2 separate regions of the Homo sapiens genome follow, and region 1 is linked to region 2. Evidence: promoter capture Hi-C in human tissues and cell types (Jung and others, 2019). All regions are on one chromosome and are shown on one strand. The core of a region is centred on a gene start or on the middle of the fragment in contact, and the rest is flanking DNA. Distances in the headings are between cores, read along the strand shown. Region 1 overlaps FRYL (FRY like transcription coactivator). Region 2 holds the start of SLC10A4 (solute carrier family 10 member 4).

Evidence for each region. Contacts are between HindIII fragments. The study calls those that stand out against the background at their distance.
Region 1: a fragment that was not itself captured here is called in contact with the fragment with the promoter of SLC10A4 in region 2 in 2 of the 25 tissues and cell types used here (IMR-90 fibroblasts and thymus).

The regions. Positions count from the first base shown.
Region 1 is chr4:48,531,715-48,538,026 of GRCh38, reverse strand. FRYL (FRY like transcription coactivator) reads left to right here. Exons shown (of 64, transcript NM_015030.2): 48 at 2,200-2,370; 49 at 3,342-3,482. Among named protein-coding and RNA genes, the nearest start is that of ZAR1, 45 kb to the right of the region's middle. The HindIII fragment of the contact is 5,937 bases long and covers 1,855-6,312 here.
Region 2 is chr4:48,480,146-48,486,377 of GRCh38, reverse strand. SLC10A4 (solute carrier family 10 member 4) reads right to left here and starts at 3,035. Exons shown (of 3, transcript NM_152679.4): 1 at 2,227-3,035; 2 at 1,236-1,446. The coding sequence starts at 2,816. RefSeq lists silencers at 2,856-2,985, 3,066-3,115 and a cis regulatory region at 4,370-4,765. The HindIII fragment of the contact is 6,923 bases long and covers 1,205-6,232 here.

The DNA.
Region 1 (6,312 bases), core at 3,574-6,073, 50 kb before region 2:
AGTGACACATGATTAGAAAATTTGTGTAAACAAAGTTTTTTTCCCTACCTGAGGGGTTGGAAAGCAAATATAAGGGGGAAAGTGTATATTGGTTTACTTGGGGGTTTCAAGAAAATAAAAGGCATAAATCCCCTAAAAAGGGAAGTAGAAGTATTTAAGAGTGGCAGCTGAAATGTGTTGAATGATTACTGCCTGCTAAATGCTGGGATAACTAAGGAGTGTGGCCTCCTAGCCTGAAGGATGTTACAGCTCCTTGAATATCGAGCTGCTGATATCGTGACCACAGTAGGGCCATGGAAATTCCCAAATATCTTTTATGTTTTTAAGAAATCAGATATGGCCTTCTGTGATTCATAAATTGTTTTTAAGTCTGTTTTCTTCCTGTTGGACAGCACACAAAGGTTCCCTCTCCGTATGCTTTTAGCAACCTGCAGGATGTGAATTAAATTGGTTCCTTAATTATTCTCCCACTTATAACTGTAGAGAGTAATTTTCTGCCATTATGTGCTCCTTCATTATGCAAATATCCCTAGTTCTACTGTTTGTGCCTTTGGAGAGCACAGAATTTCAAAATGAGGCAACACTTAGGACAAATATTTTTCTCTTTAGTGATTCGTTATGGCAAAAATAGTATGCTAAAAAAGTTTGTTATAAAACACACTCTTTTTGGATCGTATTTTAACCTGGCATTTCAAAAATTCCAAAATTAAATCTGTCACTTGTTCTATTATAAAATTGCACAGCAGATATTCCAAGGAATTTTCTCCCTTTTCAAAAAATAAGTTTTTTAAAATCATTCCTTAAAAAAATTATTTAAGAATGTAAGAATTCTCTAAGAATGTTTTATTCTTCAGGAAAGTTTTTTATGTTTTAAAGAATTTAACAACTTGAGAAGTTATAAAATTATGCGATTTTTAATAATATGTTAAATTATTATATTTTGAAATGCAAATAAGAGATACCAACCCATTTTTTCTTTTTCTTTCTGGTGTCTGTTTTATGGGCAAAACACTACTGCATGAAATCAGCTGGTTTTAATGATTGTATAAAATAACTTCCCAGGTACTACTGTGTTAATAGTCTATGCACGACCTTGCATAACCTTTATATTTTGTGCTTGTTCCATGATAATGTCCAAATGATGAATTTGAGGCCCTCCAAGCCTATTAAACATCTTCCGAATTACCAAAATTAGTGATATTCATTTGAAAGTTGAAGATGTATATATTTAAAAGGACAGTTTCTTTACCAAATGCTGTAGGTAGTTGTAAAAATACATACAAAACATCCATAAGATAGAAGAATAAGGAAAAGGAAAACTAAAAGCAGAAATGACAATGAGGTTAGCCTTTTATGACAGATTGGTATGTAAGAGTAGCATGGCCTTTTTCCAGTTCTGCATAGCTCAGGTGTCCCCTGGGAGAGGCCAGGGAACATCCTCACCAATAACCCAGGGAACAAACAGACTAAGAAGTGCATTCAGTCAGTAAAATTCCCCCCAAACATTAGTTGGTTCAGATTCTTTAATATTGTATCAAACAAACATGAGAGTCAGTACATTTTGGAGTAGCCTTTAAAAGATTGGCCGAGGATCTTAGAGCTTTAGGTGATTTCCGGAAGAGCAGTTTGAGGTCCACCATGCAGACTGTCATCCATTGGAGATTCTGGACTCCAGATTTCATCAGAGCCCCAGTGATGTCCTTTGACTGTCACACATGTTGAGGCTGTTTGCAACTGACTGCTCTACTGAGATACCCCGGGCACAGCTGGAGGCTGAAGCATTTCCTCCCAGTCACAGCAGCTCGGAGCCTCCCTGAGAATTCCCTAGTTATATCTGCCTGTGTAGTCACTTGTGCACTGATCCATCCTGGGTTTGACAAAGCAATTCCAAAATGATGTCCCGAGTTCACACCATACATGGTTTCTGCCAGAGACAGTTTACAGATCTTCAGACTGAAGAAGGCCGTACTATTTAGTACCCACAAAGACATTAATCCTCTTTCTGTATTAGCTCTTACTATTCTGTGAAGAATGCCTTGTGCTTTTTTTCTCGTTTCACTTTTCTAACGTATTGAAGTAAAATGCATTAAAACCAATATACATCTAAATTATTTCATTAAGCGAATACATTTAGCATAAAATCAAGTTAAACTTGTGTCTTTATTTTAGGTGAATGAAATAATTTTATTTGTTTTCTAGGTTTGTGCAGAAGAAAAATGCCCAACACTTGTCAATCTGGCACACATGATGAGTTTGTACAGTACACACACGTATTCCAGAGACTGTTCTAACTGGATCAATGTCGTGTGCAGATACCTGCATGACTCCTTCTCAGATACAACATTTAATCTTGTGACTTATCTTGCAGAGGTAAATTTACCAAAAATATTTTCTTATTTACTATATATATATGTGTGTGTGTGTGTGTGTGTGTGTGTGTATGTGTATATATATACACATATATATATTTTAACTACTCTGTGGCACCTTATCAAGTTGATTTATATGCAGAAGCAGCACTGGTATTAACTGATATTCAAATTGTCTGACAGTCAACATAGTTAACAATTTTTTAAGATAAAAATATAAGTTACTTCCTATCAAGTGTAAAAGAAGTTTTTATAAAGGTGGGTTTTTTTTCCATGTCCAGTGTTTATATCCTTATTTACTGTCCTTAAGTGACATGAAACTCAAAATAATATACACTTTACCTAATTAAAAATGGAAAATGGGTTTTTAGTGGTCCTGATCCTAGAGAATGGTTATAATTTTTATTTCTACAAAATTAGGTTTTAGCTTAGAAATCTTTTCTAGAATAATAATTACAGCATACAAAAGTATTTCTTCTGGAAAAGTTTTTAGTTTGATGATACATTTGCTTCCTATCTAAAATATGATTTTGAGACAGCAAAAAATGGATGATAAAGTAGCCCTAGAACAGCACAAAAAGTTAATATCTATTTGATGCCTAAGAAGTAACTTTATACCCAGAAAAGTAAATTACTAAGTAGATAGGCACAAAGAGAAAGTCAAAAGCAAGAGATTCCTAGTCACTAAAAATGTTTGTCAGTTTATAATAAAGTAATACCTACTAAATTAGTTAAGGAAATAAAACACCATGATTTAGATGAAAAGTTATCGTCTAATTCTCCTTTCTGAACCAAGGAAAAATAACAGTAATAGACTCTGCCTTTCACTTTATTAGTCTCTAGATTTCTAATCCACATAACTATAAACTCATAGGCTAAATCTATGTTTTCCAACCTGTCAAATGTAAATATTGAGTTTTTATTCAACCTGATTAAAGTATACTTTAATATTACTTTTAACATTATTTTTAGCTGTTAGAGAAAGGATTGTCCAGTATGCAGCAATCATTACTACAGATTATTTATAGTCTATTGAGTCATATTGACCTGTCTGCAGCCCCAGCCAAGCAGTTTAATCTGGAGATCATAAAGATTATTGGCAAATATGTACAGGTGAGTGACCACAAAACTTACATATAACATTTTTCATCTAAAAATGATTTATAATCACACAATATTGGAAATGCCTTAAATGTCGAAGAATGGGGAAGTGGTTCAACCATAAATCGTGTTTTCAGGATATTTGCAGTATGGAAAATGTTCTCAATGTAAGTGACAAAAACCAGAATCAGAATTAGTATGATTTCTACTTTTCGTATTAACAATTTCTGTAATGTTCTGTAATGACAGGAAGGAATGCATATACACATTGCAGCAGTCAAAACTCTGGAAATTAGGACTGTGACTCATTGGTTGTTTTTGTTTTTGTTTTGAGAAGGAGTCTTGCTCTGTTGCCCAGGCTGGAGTGCAGTGGCGCAGTCTCGGCTCACTGCAGCCTCTGCCTCCTGGATTCAAGTGAGTCTCCTGCCTCAGCCTCCTAAGTAGCTGGGATTACAGGCATGTACCACCACACCCAGCTAATTTTTGTATTTTTAGTAGAGATAGGTTTCACCATGTTGGCCAGGCTGGTCTCGAACTCCTGACCTCAGGTAATCTGCCCACCTCAGCCTCCCAAAGTGCTGGGATTACAGGCGTGAGCCACCGTGCCTGGCCTCATTGTTCTTTCTTTCTTCGTACCTTTCTGTTTTTTAACGAGATTCTACTTAGTGGGCATACACTACTTTTAGAAACAGAAAACCTCTTTGAAGAGTTTGCATTTTAGAGATTTTTTTGTGTGTCTGATAAAAAGTGCCAGATATTTAGAAAGTGGAAAATTAAACTTGATTTAAATGTAAATGATGACAAGTCGGCCTGGTCTTTGCTGAATTTCACCTTTGAAATTCAGTTAAGCTGTCGGTTTGAGCTACCAGTTAAGAAAGCTTTGCATTGCTGAGCAGATCAGTAGGATGGATACAACTCACCAAAGAGAACAAGCTCATTAACAACCTTAATAGATTAATATGTTGTGTTTATACTCCAGTTACGTTTGCATTCACTAGAGCAGAACTTAGAATGGGAAATACTTAGCTGGCAAGGAATTTATTCTAGTTCATATCTGAAAGTAATAAAACTGTAGTAAAATGTTTTCAGTGATTCAGTTATGTAATCCACATTACCTCTTACATTCCCTTGAAAATCAGTGATTGCAGATATCAAAAAAACGGGAGATTTTCTGGTGGCCCTATTTATCTTGTGTCTTATCCTTCAGTGAGTGAGGCTTTACCAGATAGCAGTTATATCTCTTTCTAAAGCACATTTCTCTTTTCTTCTTAAGCCTTAAAAAAAAAAAACTTATAAAATATTTGCTATATTTCACATAGAAACATATACCACATTGAATTCACTACCTTCTGAACCATAGGTACATTTCTTATGTTCAGAACCACAAGCTCAACTTGCCAGTGGACAAGCAGATAACCAGAAGGAGCATAGATTTGTGGCTAAGTGAACTGCACACTCCCCATCTCAAAGGAGAAACACAACTTAGCTTCCTCTGGTGGTTTTCATGTTAGAATATGGGTCCAGTGTGGCAGACTTCTCACTTTAAGAGAAGCTGGAAATCTACATTTTTCTGTAAAATCTCCTGATTTTAAAATGTTGACTCAATTTTTTTTCCAGATTTCTTTATAAATGTGTGAATCAAGATCATATTTAGCTGATGGCTCATCACAGCTGCTGGCTTGTGCTTTATTAAACAACTAAATATTTCACAGAATTGAATTATCGATAGTCTTTTACATTTAAACACAACCAGCAATATAATTTATGAAAACATCCCTAAAGTTTAGCATTTCATGATGCCCAGAGATTGTAATTATTTCTGTCAGAAAAAATATGATGATTATTTCTACTTAGTCATGATTTTGTTAAATATAAACTTTTTTTTGTTTTGTTTTGTTTTTTTTGAGATGGAGTCTCTGTTGCCCAGGCTGAAGTGCAGAGGTGCGATCTTGGCTCACTGCAACCTCCGCCTCCTGGGTTCAAGGATTGTCCTGCCTCAGCCTCCCAAGTAGCTAGAATTAGAGGCACATACCACCATGCCTAGCTGATTTTTGTATTTTTAGTAGAGATGGGGTTTCACCACATTGGCCAGGCCGGTGTCAAACTCCTGACCTCAAGTGGTCTGCCTGCATTGGCCCCCCAAAGTACTGGGATTACAGGCGTGAGCCATTGCTCCCGGCCTTTAAACTACTTTTTACAGTGCTGTTCTTAAAATGTCACAGTATCATGTAGACCTTTTTATTATCAAGTATTTTGTGTTTTAGGTGTCTTCATAGCAAGATGTTATGAACTCAATTGGATAACCCAATTCTGCCAAAGATTTTTTACTTCCTTTTTTGGTGTCTTAATGGTTATTTTTCCTTCCTCAGATATCAGCTGTGAAAGAATATGTATAATATAATACAAGGTTGAGATGTGATTTTTGGTACCATAAGTAAGAAGTAGTTTTTTCTATGTATCCTTTTCAGTGGGTGGTAAAAGAAAGATATTATAAAGTCTTTATCAAACATTCACTGTTCTCTACATATACATCTAGCTCATAAATAATTCCTAGATTTCATTGGTAGGAATATACAAAACTAAGACAAGCAGAAAAATTTTTTTAAAATAGCCAAAATATGTAGGGAAGAAAAAAAAACCTCACCCTACACAACTCAGTAATCCCTGAGAACATCACATTAGCATGGTATCTACTCTCAGTATTTGGGGCCTGGGCCATCAAGAAAAAAAGACTTAACTGTATTTTAGTATTTTAATATTTTTATGTCTAAAAAGGAAGGTATTCGTTAAAAAATTTTTATCTGCAAAGACTTAAAATACTTAAATTTTAGAGTCTCAAAGC
Region 2 (6,232 bases), core at 1,786-4,285:
CAAGTTCTTAATGCATCTCAAGAGTATCTATGAGTATATATTACAGGTATTAATATATGCATATTTACATGTACACATACATTTTTACATTCACATATACATGTGTATTATGGAGCAGGATTTCTTTTACTCAAGCCTGGATATATGCACAGAAAAGAACTCTCTACTTTTCATATTAATAAAAGCTGACTCTATATAATCAAATTACTTTAGAAAATAAGTAAAACAAAAGATTATGTCTTCTTGAATCTACATAATTGAAACATTAGGGTGGCTCTTTTTCTCTTCATTTGTCTAAAGGAATTTGCCTGTGCATTTTGCAGTAATAGTTACGTATTTTATTTGATTAATTACCTGAAGTCAGCATCCTGGTCATGGTTTATTCTTTTTTGCTACTGTTTTTGAATTTTCAAAGACAGCTTAATTTTGCAAAGATTTTTTTTCCTCCAGTCAACTACTAGAATCTACTAAACTATTAAAATCTCTACTGCTACAGAAAGCATTCATTTTTTAAAAAATCAAAGCCTTAGGAGAAATATTGCACAAATTATAGAAATCCCCTATCTTTTCACTAGCTTTATAAGCCATATAAAATATTGCAATGGAGAAAGAAAAAGAAACACATTTAGTAAGGTCAACATAACCTCCATTATTTATCCAGGACCCAATTTTATTTTGTGCTTTAAAGCCAATATTTTGTGTGTTCTATTACTACAATGTAACTTTTCCATTACTTTTTGTCCTATTAGTATCAACTTACTTTTAAAAATTTAATAAAATGTTAAAGGAACCTACTACAGAGTTTCTCAGAATTAGAGTTCCATTTTTGAAAAGATAGCCATGCATTTCTAAAATACTGCACCAATTCTATTAAAGTAATTTTATTTAATCTGCTTTTATGTTTAATTATATACAATTAGTGGAAAATATGTTGCCATTTAATTACACTGTCATCTTCCCCACCCTGCTATGATCTGTTTCCTTCCAATGAGTACTGATAGTTCTCTTATGCTGGTTTTGATTAAGCTGTGTCTTAATTAAAGCTGTCATTCTAGGAATCCCAAAAGTGGAAGTTATCTTTGTAGCATAAACTTTTTAAAAAAAATTTTATCCATGCAACTACTTCCAAGTCCTTTTCTTCCTTTCCGCCTTCTCCAAACTTCCTAACATTTCTGCTGTGGGTCAGAGATCAAGGGCTCTCCAAGCTAGTATGGAAAGGGAAGAGGGGGCCTTACCTTCACAATGTAGTCAGCCACCCGGCTGTATTTGTAGCGAATGAAGACGCCCAACCCGATAGGTATGAGAGTGCTGCAGAGAGTCAGGGTCACGGTCCCTAGGGGTAGTAACTGCACGATAGGGGTGTTGATCCAAGCCCAGCTGTAGATCCACAGGCACAGGGGCATCAAGACGAGGGCCAGAAGCGTGGAGGAGATGGTCATGATGATGCTGCAGAAAAGGGAATGTGCAGAAATCAGAACGAGCTTTGAGTCAAACAGCCAGCTAACCTTTTTCTTGTATGTTGAGTAGAGGTGGAACGGGGAGACTGCAAGTCCCGGGGTTGAAGTCTGGGCAGAACCTACATCCGAGGAGAGTGCCAAGAGAGCAGCACGTCTAACACCGATGGAATTATGAACCCAAGGCAGGGAGGAAAAACAAGCCCCCTGTCTCGGTACTGCTGCCCTCGACATTATAAAGTCTATTGAGCCTGGATGATTCTGAGGGGAAGGAACGTTCTTCCTTGCAAGCCCCCTGCAAGGTAAGCCATGGTAAAGCTGCTGACTGCTACTTGTTGGTCGGACTCAACAATCCTGCACTCTATGTGAGATTACTTTCTCTGACGGGCCAGTAGCCCTATTTTACTTTTACGTTGCCGGCGAGTTCTAGTTCAGACTCCCCCTTCTCTTTGTCTTCCACTGGACAACGACCTGCGCTGCCACCCCGACGCTCGGGGAGGACGGCGAGGGACCCTGCTGAAGGGCCGCGCTGCGCATGGAATCCCAGCCTTGGAGCAGCTCCCTCGCCGTCTAGCTTGCTCCCCTAGCAGCACAACCTGCAGGTCGGCCTTGACTTCTAAAGCCGGGGCGTCATCAACTTCCTCTCCTTTTCTCCTCCTTCCTCCACGCCTAATTCCAACCCCTCCACTGCCTCTGTCCTTCGTCGTGAGCCCACGGCCGTAAACGCGCGTCTGGGATGAGACAGATGCCCAAGGAATAGACAGATCCGTACCTGAGGTTCATGTCGCCGTCAACCAGCAGGGACATAAGATTGGAGAGATTGCCGCCGGGACAGCAGCCACACAGGAGCACCGCCACGGCGGCCACCTCGTCCAGCTTGAAGGCGAGGGCCAGCAGGAAGGCCAGCAGCGGCAGGAGGCCGAACTGGCAGAGCGCTGCCAGCAGCGCGCCCACGGGCCGACGGACGTGCGCCCCGAAGTGGTTCACGTCCACCGTGCAGCCCAGGCCCAGCATGGTGATGCACAGGGCGGCGCCCACGAACACGTTCAGCCCGTGGTTCAGCGGCGTGTCCCAGAACGGGAGCGCGTGGGGCGCCCAGGGCCGAGGGAACGGGGAAGGGCCGTGGCTCGCCGCGCCGCCCGCGAGGCCGCTGGTCGTGGGCTCCGGGGTCGGAGTGGGGCCGGGGCTGAAGCCGAAGCTCGGACCCGGCCCGAGGCTGAGCCCAGGGCCGGGGCCGGCGCTGGAGGCAGGGGCGAGGGCGAGGTCCGTGCCGGGGCCCAGGCTGCTGGCATTGGGCGCCAGGGTGTAGTTGTCCCGCAGCAGAGGGGCGAAGAGCAGGGTCACGTTGTCGTTGCCGTCCATGGCGCGGCCGGAGCTGCGGATTCCGGTCCCCTCCCGCCGCGTGCCTCTCGCCGTCCCGCGGTCGCCGCAGTCGCCGCCCGTCGTTCTGCCCGTCGGTCTCCGAGCCCCGGCTGCGCGCCGCTGACGTGCTCGGCGGCGTCGGGGGCGGCGGGCCGGTCTCCGCTCCCAGGTCTGCAGCCGCCCGCAGCCTGGCACTCCGCGCAGCGCGGCCCCCCGGGTGAACCCAATCGCTGCGCCGGCTCCGCGCCGCGGCCCCGCGCCCCGCAGGCCCCGCCCCGCCCTGCCGCCCGGTCCCCTCCTGTGAATCGCCAGTAAGTGGTTCTGTTATCGAGTGTAGCCAGGGGCGGAACAAAGACCTGACAAAGGACCAGAGCAGGAAAAAACCGTTCCTGGCTGCCGATCAAGTTCTCTGATGGGCTCTGCCTCTTTATAATGAAATCTGGAGACCCAGACACACAAAGTGGAGGGGGCGGGTGGATAACCTCATCGATGCACGCTCATGGCAGAAACTGTTCCTATAGCCTGCAGCCCTAAGAGGGGTGCTTGACTTAATATGAGCGATTCTCTAGTAAGCAGGACACGATATCTGGCTTGAATTTGCAAACAATTTTTTGCATGATTTTCAGTCTTAAAGTAGAATGTAATAATAATATAGCGGGTTTTGTGCAAGTGCGTGTGCATTATTTCATTCGATTCTTACAGCAAAGCCGTGAGATAGATACCATTTTTACAAGCTCGATTTTTACAAACGAGGAAACTGAGGAACGAGGAATTCTCAGTCTTATCAACCGAACCCACAAGTACCTGGCTGAATCTGCACGGCGATGTGTCCCTAAAGAGGGCAGAGAAGAGCTTGGCTAATAACAATTTCCATGAAAAATGTGTGTTTAAGAAGTTATTGGCAGGTGGAGAGAGGATATTTCAGTGGCCACAGATTTACGAAGCTTTATGAGTAAGGCCCTGGCATTAGGATTAAAGGACTGAAAAGAAATAAAGTGCTGAGATTCCCTGCTTGAGACAGGTTTATCCCAAAACAATTCAAAAGCAGAGCTCTTAGGAATGGAGATGCAACAACTTTTAAGTCAGTCACTAGATGGCATGTAGAAAGGAAAATAATTTCGCTGCTTACCAACCAGGTGGGGCCTGTTAAGGAGGCATCTAGCTCCCTGGGGGTGACCATAAAGTGATAGTCAGTTGAGTTGTAAAAACCAACAGGAATTTCTAGAATGAAATCAAGGCTCAGTCTTAGCCCAGGGTTGCTTTCACAAGGAGCCAAGATATAGTGAATTCTTCTATCTGGGAACTTTTCCCTAACTCCTGTCCTGGCACAGAGTGACTTCTATTACCCAAGGGTGGGCTGAGCCTTTCCTCCTCCCCAAATCTCATGAAGATGATGGAGACTATGAAAAGTAAGACTTTGCAAATGCAAAGCATATTGCACTCTTCATCACAAATAATTTATTTTTTCTCTTTTGGACTGTAAATTCCACGAGGGCAGAGCTTTTGCAAGAATCTAGGAGGATAATGTACCCTTACACTTTTCCAAAACACTAAACCCAGAAAAAAAAACTTCAGTGAGCTAAACTTTAAAGGAAGTGGGTTGTGACCAAAAATATTTTAAGTTGACATGTCACCTTATGTAGGTAAAAAGAAAGATATTCAGATATACAATGATCCATGCTACCCAACCGTTACATTAGTAGACCCAGGGAAGATGTGTGGAGAAACAGACAAGATAAGGAGGGAAGGCACTGCTGAGCCTTCACAGTCTTGAAACCACAGAATGAGATAAGCCAAGAACACAAATGGCAAGGGATCCAGCTGAAGCCAACTGTGCAGGCACCACTCCTATTTGCCTCAGAAACCCTCATCATGTTAATGATATTAAAATTCACAATCACATTAAATAAGCAGTAATTAGAGGCAGACCAACTCAACTCATCCAACTACCTCCTCTCAGGGTTTAGGGAGGGACTTGGGCGGCAACTTGTGCAATGGGCGAAGACTGAAAACAGAAAGGGGCCTGGCATCATGGCTTTTGTCTGCAATCCCAGCAATTTGGGAGGCTGAGACAGGTGGATCACTTGAAGACAGGAATTCGAGACCAGCCTGGCCAACATGGTGAAACCCCATCTGGACTAAAAAGACAAAAATTAGTTGGGTATGGTGGTGTGTGCCTGTAGTACCAGCTACACAGGAGACTGAGGCAGGAGAATTGCTTGAACCTGGGAGGTGGAGTTTGCAGAGAGCCAAGATCGTGACACTGCACTCTAGCCTGGATGACAGACTGAGACTCCATCTGAAAAAATAAAAAAGAAGGGGATGATGGGCTGCGATTGTAAATCATGGGGCATGTTGCACCTGCAATCTTGGGGGATTCTTGGGACCTACACACCTGATGTCACTCCTGCTGATGGGGTGATTGTCATTGTAAAGAAAACAGGTGCTCTGGCCTCCCCTTCTTTCTCATCTTCCTCACTATGTATGAGAAAACCCCAGGATTAGGTTTAAGCCCATTCTCCAGGTGTGATGACACTGGTGTGGTGACACTGGTGAAGTGAAGTATTCTTTTCCCAAGGGGGAAACAATATGTAAAAGGGAGAGATAACATAGTACTTAGAAAATATGGCCAGGCATGGGGCTCACGCCTATGGGAGGCCAAGGTGGGCAAATCTCTTGAGCCCAGGAACTTGACACCACCCTGGACAACATGGTGAAACCCTGTCTCTACAAAAACTACAAAAATTGGCCAGACATGGTGGCGCATGCCTGTGGTGGCATATGCCTGTGGTACCAGCTATTTGGGAGGCTGAGGTGGGAGGATCGCTTGAGCGCAGGAGGGCAAGGCTGCAGTGAGCCATGACCATGCCACTGTACTCAGGCATGGGTGACAGCAAACCGTGTCAAAAAAAAAAATTAAGGAAGGAAGGAAGATGAAATTAAGCTAGCTATTTGGGGAAAAATAAATTTAGAGCTTTGTGGCACAGTGTATACCAAAGCTAATTCCAAGTAGATTAAAGGGTTAACTATTATAATAATAATAATGCAACAAAATACTAGAGAAAAAGATTGGCAAGTGTTTATCTCATCTTTGGATATGGAAAATTTTTCTAAGCAAAAAAGTAACAGAAGAAATCATAATGGGGAGCTCAGTAGATATGGATACATAAAAACTTTCAACTTTGTTATAGTAAAAACATCATTTAAGAAATTAAGAGAAAATTTATGATTAATTTATAAGTTTTATTGTGTTATTTTATAGGAAAAGAGGCAAATGACATGAATAGACACAAGATCACAAAAGAGATGCAAGCAGCCAACATGTTTATGAAAATAGTCACATTCACTAGTATCCAGAGCAATTAAATTGAAGCAATTAGATGCCATTTTTCAGTACTGGAAAAGATTCAGATATA